3 separate regions of the Homo sapiens genome follow, and regions 1 and 3 are each linked to region 2. The links are contacts of gene promoters, found by promoter capture Hi-C in blood cells and fetal thymus (Javierre and others, 2016). All regions are on one chromosome and are shown on one strand. The core of a region is centred on a gene start or on the middle of the fragment in contact, and the rest is flanking DNA. Distances in the headings are between cores, read along the strand shown. Region 1 overlaps ARFGAP3 (ARF GTPase activating protein 3). Region 2 holds the start of PACSIN2 (protein kinase C and casein kinase substrate in neurons 2). Region 3 overlaps ARFGAP3 (ARF GTPase activating protein 3).

Region 1 (2,963 bases), core at 50-2,549, 200 kb after region 2:
TGCATAATGAAAAAAGTATTTATAATCTGAAGCCCTGTTGGACTCTGTGACTAAATTCTAAATACATGATGGAAGACTATGGCTCTGGTCGTGTCTCCAGAGGTTCTGAGCCTGGATCTTGGAGAGGGAGAAGGAAGAGTTTCAGAGAATGAAGAAGGTGGAATGATCGTGTGTGTCGGGGGCCTGCCTGAAGTGGAGGAGTTGGAACGATAATGTGGAGCACCTTAAAGTCAGGCTGTGGTTGTCCACTTACCCAAGAGAAACAGCTCCTTCAGCAGTGCTGTCATGAAGGGGCGTCTCGGGAGAATGAGTTCGGTAGTGATACCCAGGCCAGGAAGAGGGGAGGAGACTGGAAGCCAGGAGGCCAGTGAAGAGATCGGTTTTCCGTAGACTTTTGTAAGGCTCTTGAGAGGTTTTCATTTGTGTTGAAATCAGAAGAGAAAGATGGCCTTCTGGAAACCGTGACTGTACCAAAGATCAGGAGAGAAGGGCGGAGGGTGCATGCTACACAGAAAGGAAAAGTAACCTGGATCCCTATTTTTTATGTGTGTGTTTTTTAATGGTGTTTTCTCTTACTTTCATGTGTATTTTATCTGTTTTAGCTTGAGTTACTATAGACTGTATGATGAAGAAAATAACACCTATTTTATGAGGTGGTTTTAAGGATTAGTTTAATAGCTTAAATGCTCATTGAAGTGCATCAAACAGTACCTGGCACATAGTAGGTGCTCAGTAAATGCAACTACTTTTCGTACTGTCTTACTGTTCATACTGACGGTTCGCTAAGATGGAGTTTATAAGGTAAACCCAAATAATTTGAAGTTGATAGTTGTTTCTCCTTGTCATTTAATTCACAGAACATAGGGGGCAGCACTGAACTGTATTTAGGTCGAATATGGTTTGAAATGCTTTGTGTACAAAAATTTACGTTGACTTGTCACAGACTTTAATTTCTCTTACTAAGCTAAGTTTTTGACCCTGGCAAAGGGAAAGGTTAGATTTGAGTGTTTCGATGGCTTCTCTTGGTATTTGGGAGTAGGCTCTGTCCAGATTACTCATGCTTGAGGTTTTCCCAGAGCGTGTGTAAAATCGGGCCCTGATCAGCTTCCTTCCTGCAAGTAAGCTGGATGGAGAAGCTGCAGGTAAGCTGGATGGAGTGAAGTCTGGTTGTTACTTCTAATATTAACATGCTAATCTTCCTGAAAACAGGAAGCAACAACCAGACTTCACTTGTATCTTTCATTAGGAGTGTTTAATACATCACAAAAACAAAGATGCAGATCGGAAGATTTATGAATTTGATTTGAGAAGCCAGTTTGGCAACTTTCATGGCCTTGTTCAGAACAACCACACCACTGTGCCTTAATGACCACCACTGCCACTCAAACCCGTAGAAAGTACAGGTGTTTTATCCTTAATACATGAGTGTTATGTTGCAAGTTAGTTTGTTTAATGGCTGTAAATAAAGTTATTTCGGCTCAGTAAACTGTCAGAACAGTGTTGTTCTTGTACTGTCAGAGTGTGAAACTAAACAGCCCATGCAGCATCCTGGTCTCCTTCTAGCAGTTTCCCAGCCCGTCCTCAGAGGCTCTCTGTGTGCCCACTTGGTAGGAAGGAAGGAAGAGGCAGAGCTGCCTTGAGCTGCTCCGCTTGTTTGATCTGTGTCCTGCAGTCCTCCCTTGAGCCAGTACCCGTAAGCACTCCTGAAGTTCTGAGAAACGCGGTGTTCTGACTTCTTAACTGTTGGTGCTTCCAGAGAGATGTTCTCGTAAGCATCAAAGTGCATGCTTTTAGTGAGTGACCCAGTCCATGTCAGATTACCTAGGAAGGAAAACTTTTCCATCTCTTATCTTTCTAATAGAACCTTTTCATCCCCATGCATCTTCTCCAGAAGAATCTGTTGCTGTAATTATATGTATTCATGATTTTAAACAGAGCTATTGTTTTCCTCCAAAAGAAAAAGTAGTATTTATTTGTTAAGGAATAAAATAGCCATAACCTGTTCTGTAGGAAGAGTAAGGAAAACAAACTGCCATGTGAAAACCAAAGAAATCTTGCTTGACTCATTAAAGAAAAGAAACAGCAAAAGCAAGATTACTTTTTCCTAATAAGAAATTCTGCACCGGGCGCGGTGGCTCATGCCTGTAATCCCAGGACTCTTTGAGGCAGAGGCAGGCAGATCGCCTGAGGTCAGGAGTTCGAGACCAGCCTGGCCAACATGGTGAAACCTCGTCTCTACTAAAAATAGAAAAATTAGCTGGATATGGTGGCAGGTGCCTGTAATCCCAGCTACTCGGGAGGCTGAGGCAGGAGAATTGCTTGAACCTCGTGGGTGGAGGTTGCAGTGAGCCAAGATTGCACCACTGCACTCCAGCCTGGGCGACAGAGCAAGACTCCATTTCAAAAAACAGAAAGAAATTCTGTTGTCTTTCCCTATTACTATGCAGAAATTTATTTATATTACTAGGAATTTATACAATGCCTCTTTTGCCAGGAATTCATGGTATTTTACATGTTTTTATAAAGTGGATGATAACTTAGAAATCCTTGTAAGTTAGATAGATCATTTTTCAGGGCCCTGAAATGTTGTGCTGTCTCACTAAAATATGATGCAAACTGCTATTCTTGCTATATAGGCATAGTTTTCTTTATGAAAAATTAAGTCATTATTGCATTTTTAGAAATCTGAGAGCAAGGACAATGTTTTGTACACCTTTTTACCCCTTTGGTGTCCTGCTTGTAGCAGATATTTGATTTTAAATAGAAGAGTGGTATTTGACTGACTAGTAGTGCTAAAGAGTCTATTAGCTGATGAGTCACTATCCCATTTTAAATGCTCTCAGAAGCCTGATTGCATAGAGATGTATCTACAAGAAATTATTTTGTAAATGGAAGGATCCTTTTACAATTAAGTAATAGCCCCTTAGTTGATCTATTTGTAAAGTCAAATTTATATATTTATT
Region 2 (3,459 bases), core at 533-3,032:
TGATCCGCCCGTCTCGGCCTCCCAAAGTGCTAGGATTACAGGCGTGAGCCACAGCGCCCGACAAGGCTCTATATTTTTATAGGGCATGGAATTGCGATGTAAGCGGAACTTACCCAGATATGAAAGTGCTGAGAGCTGATGGCTGAGTTCTATCTATACAAATGGTCCACAGGTATTGTGGGTGGCAAAGAGGTCCCTGTTGGCTCAGTCCTGGAGAATGAGGAGAGACTTCTTGGCAGTGGTTTGTCCTGGCACTGTGTGTTGGTTTTTTTTTTTTTTTTTTGAGATGGAGTCTCGCACTGTCGCCAGGGCTGGAGTACAGTGGCGTGATCTTGGCTCACTGCAACCTCCGCCTCCCAGGTTCAAGTGATTCTCCTGCCTCAGACTCCCAAGTAGCTGGGATTACAGGTGCATGCCACCACACCCAGCTAATTTTTTGTATTTTTAGCAGAGACAGGCTTTCACTGTGTTGGCCAGGCTGGTCTCAAACTCCTGACCTTGTGATCTGCCCGCCTCGGCCTCCCAGAGTACTGGGATTCCAGGCGTGAGCCACCGTGCCTAGCCGGTTCTTTTGTTTCTTTCTCAATTATTGTCATAAGGACAATGCCACAGAGCAGTCTAGAAAGTAAACAACCACTAGATTTCTTTGTGGACTCTTTTCTCATACCTATCTATATGTAGCAGCAATTCTACAGTTTCTACCATTTTGTATCTAGCTTTTTCTTTTATTATTATTTTCTTTTATTTTACTTTTTAGAGAACTGGGTCTTGCTATGTGGCCCAGGTTGGCCTCAAACTCCTGGGCTGAAGCGATTCTCCTGCCTCGGCGTCCCAAGAAGCTGGGATTCCAGGTGCATGTCACCATGCCTGGCTCTATCTGGCTTTTTCTTTTAACGTTTTAGTTTAAGCATTTTCCCATAGTGCTACACAGTCATCATTATTATTCTCAAGGGTTGGGCTGACCTGGGTTTCTAATCCTGGCTCTGCCATTTACTCTCTTTACTCCACATCACCCCCAGCAAGTTACCTGGCTCACCCCTCACCTGGGGTTCCTCTCACCATCCTCTCCACCTGGATGACATGAAGCAGTGCTTGGACAGCGCGTAGGACAGTGCTCAGGAAGTGCTCTCCATTTTCCTTCAAGAGTATTTCCCTCTGCAGAACGGGGCTAATACCCTATCATGCAAGGTGATTGTGAGAATTGGAAAGAATGCGTGTGCATTGCCTGGTGCCTTGCCATCCAAATATATTTTATTAGAGAGAGCAGCAACATACGCCCCCCCAACCCCCCGTTTAAACTAAGCGGGTCCACGTGGAATGACGCTTTTGGCGCAAGTCGGAGGAGCTCCTAACGACATTAGCTTCTTTGAGTCCCTTGGGAGAGGAAACTTTCTGAAAGACTGTAGGATTACCTTCCCTGAACTTCCGGTCAGGTGCGGTGCTGCCCTGCCGCGCCCTCTTACCCCTGGATGCCGACGAAACCGCAAAACTCCAGCCCCGGGAAGCGCGTCTCAAGGACCACCACCAGCGAGCGGCTTTGGGAGAGTAATCTGCGCCACCCTCGCAGCCCATTAAATAGGCACTCCCCGTTTGATTGACAGGAGAAGTCACCAATGCGCGTCCTGGGGCTTTCCCTCGTCCTCACGCGGGGTGAGCCGCCTCTCTACTCATCTGGCCCAATCGGGGGCGCCGGGGAGGCTGTGGGGCGGGGCTCGGTGTCCGGTAGCCAATGGACAGAGCCCAGCGGGAGCGGCGGGGGCGGTGCGGTCGCGGCTGGCGGCAGAAGCGGCCGCAGGGGTCTGGGCAGGGCTGGGCAGTGCTGCCGGAGCAAAAGCGGTAGCGGGAGCCCGGCCGGAGCTGGGTCTGGAGACGCCGTGGCAGCCTGAACGGAGTGTGCGACGGATTGGGAGGTGAGTGGCCGCCGAGGTCAGGGGTCGCCGCGACGGTTGGGGCGCCGCGGGCGGGACGCGGGGGCGCTGGTCCGCGGCCGGGCCCGCGCCCCGTCAGGGCCGCCGCGCCGAGCTCCGCGCCCTGAGGGAAGCGGGTCGGGCCGCGCGGAACTTCCTGTCTCTGTGGGAGGGGGCGAGTGCTCGGGGCCCCGGGGGGCGCCTGGAGAAGACATCTTGGGGAGGACGAGGGCGAGTGGGGTCGGCTCGGGGAAGGGGCGGGGGCCCATGGGGGCGGCGCTGTGGGAGCGGGGCAGTTTTCCGGGGTCCGGGGCCTGCTGGAGAGGGAAGTGCAGGAGCAGGGCCGTCGGGGGTTAAGAGCTGCTAATGAGTGGGGGAGGTGTAGACAGCTGCAGAAGGGGGAGCTGGGGCGACTTTTGGAGGGACGCGATTTAGGAGAAAGCTGGGAATCCGAGACGTGCAGAGGTTAGGCGAGGGTGCCGGAGCAACGCTGGAGGGAAGGCGTGGCTGGGACGCGCCGGTGAGAGGGCAGGGCTTAGTCCTGGGGTGGCCTGGGGGGCGACGCAGGACACACGCGGGTGCGCTGATTTCGGGCGCTTTGATGAGCGGCCTCCATTTCCTTCCTTCCCACCCTCCGTGTCCCGGGGGGGGGGGGGTGGTGTGTGTGTGTCTGTGTGTGTGTGTGTGTGTGTGTGTGTGTGTAGGGCGGGGGGAGCAAAGCCCTTACCGCAGCACGTCCTAGGGCTGGGGCCAAGCAGGAGAGGCCGGGGAGGTTTGCCCTTGTGACCCTCCTCAGAGTTTCCCCAGACTCACTGAATCAGAAATCCGAACTCCTTACTCCTCTAGGGCTTTCAAGCCTGGCCAGGCATCCTGAGAGGTCCGCAATTGGAGAGGTAGTGATTGCTGCTGCTGTTGAATTTCATTGATTCATTGGGTTTCGGCTCCATCAGAGAAGGTCGATTTTCTTTTCAGAAGGAGTTGGTTGGTCAGGGGAGCAAGCTGTGCTATTGCTTTGGGGCCCACACGGCTGCAGCCTTTGACGTATAACAGGACCTGGGGATGCCACTCTTGGCTTGGGTGCCTGAGGGAAGGTGGCCTTTGGCTGGGTGTGTGCACCATTCCTGGATCCTGTCTTCTCTTTTTCCCTCCGCCTGTCCGGTGTTTTTGTGGTTAAGGGGGTAGGCTGCTCAGAGTCTCCAGGGCTACTTGGTACACTGTTTACCAAATACTGCCTGGCTGTCTTGATGAAAATCAGGAAACCAGCTCAAAGAGTTTGAACCTCAGCTGCAGATGGTGAGCTCACACCTTCTTCCTTCCCTCCTTTTCGGTGCCTTCCTCTGCGGTTATTCCCGTGTGCTGAAGTTCTGTTTTAACCCTCCTGGGATTGCCAGGTTGGAGCCCAGGGCAAGGGAACCGACCAGGCAGGCAGTGTTGAATGCCAGCCCTCCTGTTCTTGCCCAAGATGTTGTCGTTCCACTTGATTCATGAGCCTGCCTGCATGCAGCCTCCTCATGGAGACATTGAAGCTGTGCCAGTGCAACTTGGATCTCTC
Region 3 (3,202 bases), core at 76-2,575, 220 kb after region 2:
TATATCCCCATTTTACAGGTGAAGGAATTGAGGCACAGAAGGTTAGGTCACTTCTGCAAGATGACCAGCTGAACCAAAATTTCAGGGCTTCAAACACCAAATGTGTTCCTTTGTCTTCCGTTTCCCACTTGCTTCCCAGAGGGCTCAGCAAGTTGCCTCTGGCCCACTGAGCATCCTCCCGCCCACTTTGCTCCCTGCCTCCTGATCCCAGGACTGTGGCCGTGGATGCCAGAGGCAGGATGTGAATCCTGTTGGGTTCTGAAGCCCACACCTACCCTCAGCCTTGAAGCTGCAGCAATGGCTGCTTCCAGATGAGCACACCCTCGGGGTGCAGCGTCCATGTCACATGCCTGACATGGGCTGCAGTGTCAATTTGGGTGATGCTGAATATTCAGGGCGTGGGAGTCAGGGATCGCTGCTGAATGGTCGTGAACTTCCATTTTGGTTCTCTCTTCAGGATCGCTACGGTTCTTAATACTGAAGTCATGATGTGTATTTCCTGGAGAAATTCCTCTTTAAATGAACAAGTAACCACATCTCAGGCGGCAGTGAAGTCCAGATAGTTTTGCAGATTGTTTTGCTACTTTTTCATATGGTATATGTTTCTGATTTTTAATATTTCTTTTGAGAAATTCTGAGTTCTGATGTAGGAGCTTTCCTGTGATTTCTGTTTCACGTTCCTTCCTGTCACACCCTCCTTTGGCGTCTCTGTGTATATCCTTGCTTTATTTTCTTGGAACCTTTGATTTCAACACTGAGGGCCTGGAGACCTCGGCTCCTCCTGCTCCTGAACCAGGAGGCTTCATGTGGGGGAGGAGGAGAGGTCTCCATGTGACACATGGGCTCAGGGCTGCCAGAATCAGCGGATGCTGGATGGGCCTGCAGAAACAACACTCACCACACACACTTCCTTCAAAAGACCAAAAGTGACTGGTGTCTCGTGTGACAGATTGCTTCATTTATGTTTCTACATAGTAAGGTGACTGCCAAATAATATTTGAAGTCATCTGTCTCTTTGTAAATTATTTTATATGACCTATAAATTTAAAAATGTTTTTCAGTGAGTGCTTTTAACAAACTTAAGCTTCTGCCCTGCCAAGGGAATTAATGTTATCTTGTGAAAGGTGTTGCTGTTTGAATTGATGAGAAATGGAAGATGAGAACTCCCTAAGAGTTCTCATAATAAATCATCTCATCACAAATCAATACGGTATACAGAGTTAAAGTGGAATGAGGTAAGAAGATACAGCTACAGAAAATAGTTGCGTGTATGGGAGAACAGTCATTGTAATTGGGTAGTTTTGTTAATAAATATTTTTAAATCTTGCTTTTCAGAAATTACCGAATGTGTATAAACAAATAAAGAAAAATAATTTAGCTGTGTTTTAGACAGCATTAGAATATATTGTTCAGCACAGTAAAATATATTTGAAATTTGATAAGCCAAAAATGTGGTTTTGAATGAATATTTTGTGAATCTTTCTTAAAAGCTCAAATTTGTAGACTTCTAAATAGAATAAACACTTGCAGCAGATGGCATTGCCTACATTTTTCCCTGAAAGCTTTCGTAATAAGTCATCGTAAGTCGAGGTTTTTGGTGTGACATTGATGAACGTTTGAATTGTGGTGACTGTAGGTGGACGTGGATTTAGCGTGCGTGCGGGGCCTGCTGTGCAGTTGTGATGAATTTGGGATGTTGTTTGTAGCACAGGAGCAAGGCGGGGTGTCCCGGTTGAAAATGGGGATGTTGGGCCAGGTGAGGCGGCTCACACCTGTAATCCTAGCACCTTAGGAGGCTGGGGCGGGAGGATTGCCTGAGCCCAGGAGTTTGAAACCAGGCTGGACAACACAGCAAGACCCCGCCTCTACCAAAAAAGAAAAAATTCAGCCGGGTGCAGTGGCATGTGCCTGTAATTCCAGCTACTCAGGAAGCTGCAGCAGGAGGATCCCTTGAGCCCAGGAGGTCAAGGCTGCAATGAGCTACGACCTGGACACTGCACTGCAGCCTGGATGACAGAGCAAGACCCTGTCTCAAAAGAAAAAAAAAAAAGAGGAAGGGAGGGGATTGACTCCCCACTCCCAGAGCCTTAGCTGAAGGTGCCTGTCATGTGCCTTCCATGCCCCTCCCCACTGCCCCTCCCCTTCCCCTCGGTCTCCCCCCTGCCCCTCAGTCTCCCCCCAGCCCCTCTCCACTGCCCCTCGGTTTCCCCCCTGCCCCTCAGGCTCCTCATCCCCCTTCCCCCCGCCCCTCAGTCTCCCCACCTGCCTCTCGATCTCCCCTACCCCGTCTCTTAGTCCTCCCCTTTTCCCCTCAGTCCTCCCATCTTTGACACTCAGTGTCCTCAGGGTCTCAGAATCAGGAATCTGAGATAGATAGAGACATTTGAGCATTCCTTAAAATGCTATTAAGATGGCAAAATGGAAACTGGAGAACTCGGCAGATACCTTCCAGAGAGCTAGGAAACCCATTTCATCTACTACCGGTGTCTTTAAATAGAGGTGAAGACTGACAGATACGTTGGAAGCACCAGACATTTTGGGAGTCGTCTTTCAGCAAATTGGCTTCACAGGCGGACCACTGAAGAGTGTATGCAGAGGCTGGTCCCTGTGGGGGCCGGAGCAGACGGGTTATTGTCGCAGGTAGGAAGTCCCAGGTGTACCATCCAAGCTGGCAGGACTTGAGCTGGCTTGCCCTTAACCGCACTGTCCTTGCCACACCAGCCCTCCCCTCCTGCTTGTCACAGATGGCATCCTCCCTTCCAGGCCTCTGCGCAAGAACAAGGAGAGGAGAAAGGGCTGACTCCCAGCGAGGGACTTGTGCCTTTTTCTCCCCAGCCAGAACTGCGTCCCAGGCCCCCCTAGTTGCAAGGGAGTGGCAACGGGGTGTGTTTTCAGCAGGTCCCATTGCTGCCTTGAACAAAATCAGAATCTGTTGGTGAGGAAAGAGGGGGACGGGAGTGGGACTGGCAGCTTGGGGGAGGGACAACTTACTTCAGGACTACTAGGGGAACAGAGAACCGGAGGGGAGCAGAGAAGGCAGAGCCACCAGCAGAGGGGGTCCTGCGGCTGGGCCTGGACAGGCAGTATGGAAGTGAGTGTCCGAGGTGAGGAGTGTGGCCGTGCAGAGGCCCCGGGGTGGGCGGTGGCAGAGGGAGCAAAGGACAGGAGCAGTGGCGAGACTGGTGCCAGGGGCAGGGAGCGG

What was found. Contacts are between HindIII fragments. The CHiCAGO score rates a contact against its expected background, and 5 or more counts as called.
Region 1: a contact is called between a fragment that was not itself captured here and the fragment with the promoter of PACSIN2 in region 2, in 1 of 17 cell types (neutrophils). The highest score is 6.6, in neutrophils.
Region 3: a fragment that was not itself captured here is called in contact with the fragment with the promoter of PACSIN2 in region 2 in 1 of 17 cell types (neutrophils); the score reaches 5.9 in neutrophils.

The regions. Positions count from the first base shown.
Region 1 is chr22:42,818,270-42,821,232 of GRCh38, reverse strand. The region is part of intron 9 of ARFGAP3 (ARF GTPase activating protein 3); the gene reads left to right. Among named protein-coding and RNA genes, the nearest start is that of ARFGAP3, 38 kb to the left of the region's middle. The HindIII fragment of the contact is 5,036 bases long and covers 1-2,963 here.
Region 2 is chr22:43,013,472-43,016,930 of GRCh38, reverse strand. It overlaps PACSIN2 (protein kinase C and casein kinase substrate in neurons 2), which reads left to right and starts at 1,782. Exons shown (of 11, transcript NM_001184970.3): 1 at 1,782-1,910. RefSeq lists enhancers at 1,295-1,494, 1,477-2,180 and silencers at 1,615-1,804, 1,815-1,864, 1,985-2,054. The HindIII fragment of the contact is 24,608 bases long and covers 1-3,459 here.
Region 3 is chr22:42,794,861-42,798,062 of GRCh38, reverse strand. It overlaps ARFGAP3 (ARF GTPase activating protein 3), which reads left to right. Exons shown (of 16, transcript NM_014570.5): 16 at 458-1,561. The coding sequence ends at 475. Among named protein-coding and RNA genes, the nearest start is that of ARFGAP3, 61 kb to the left of the region's middle. The HindIII fragment of the contact is 478 bases long and covers 1,087-1,564 here.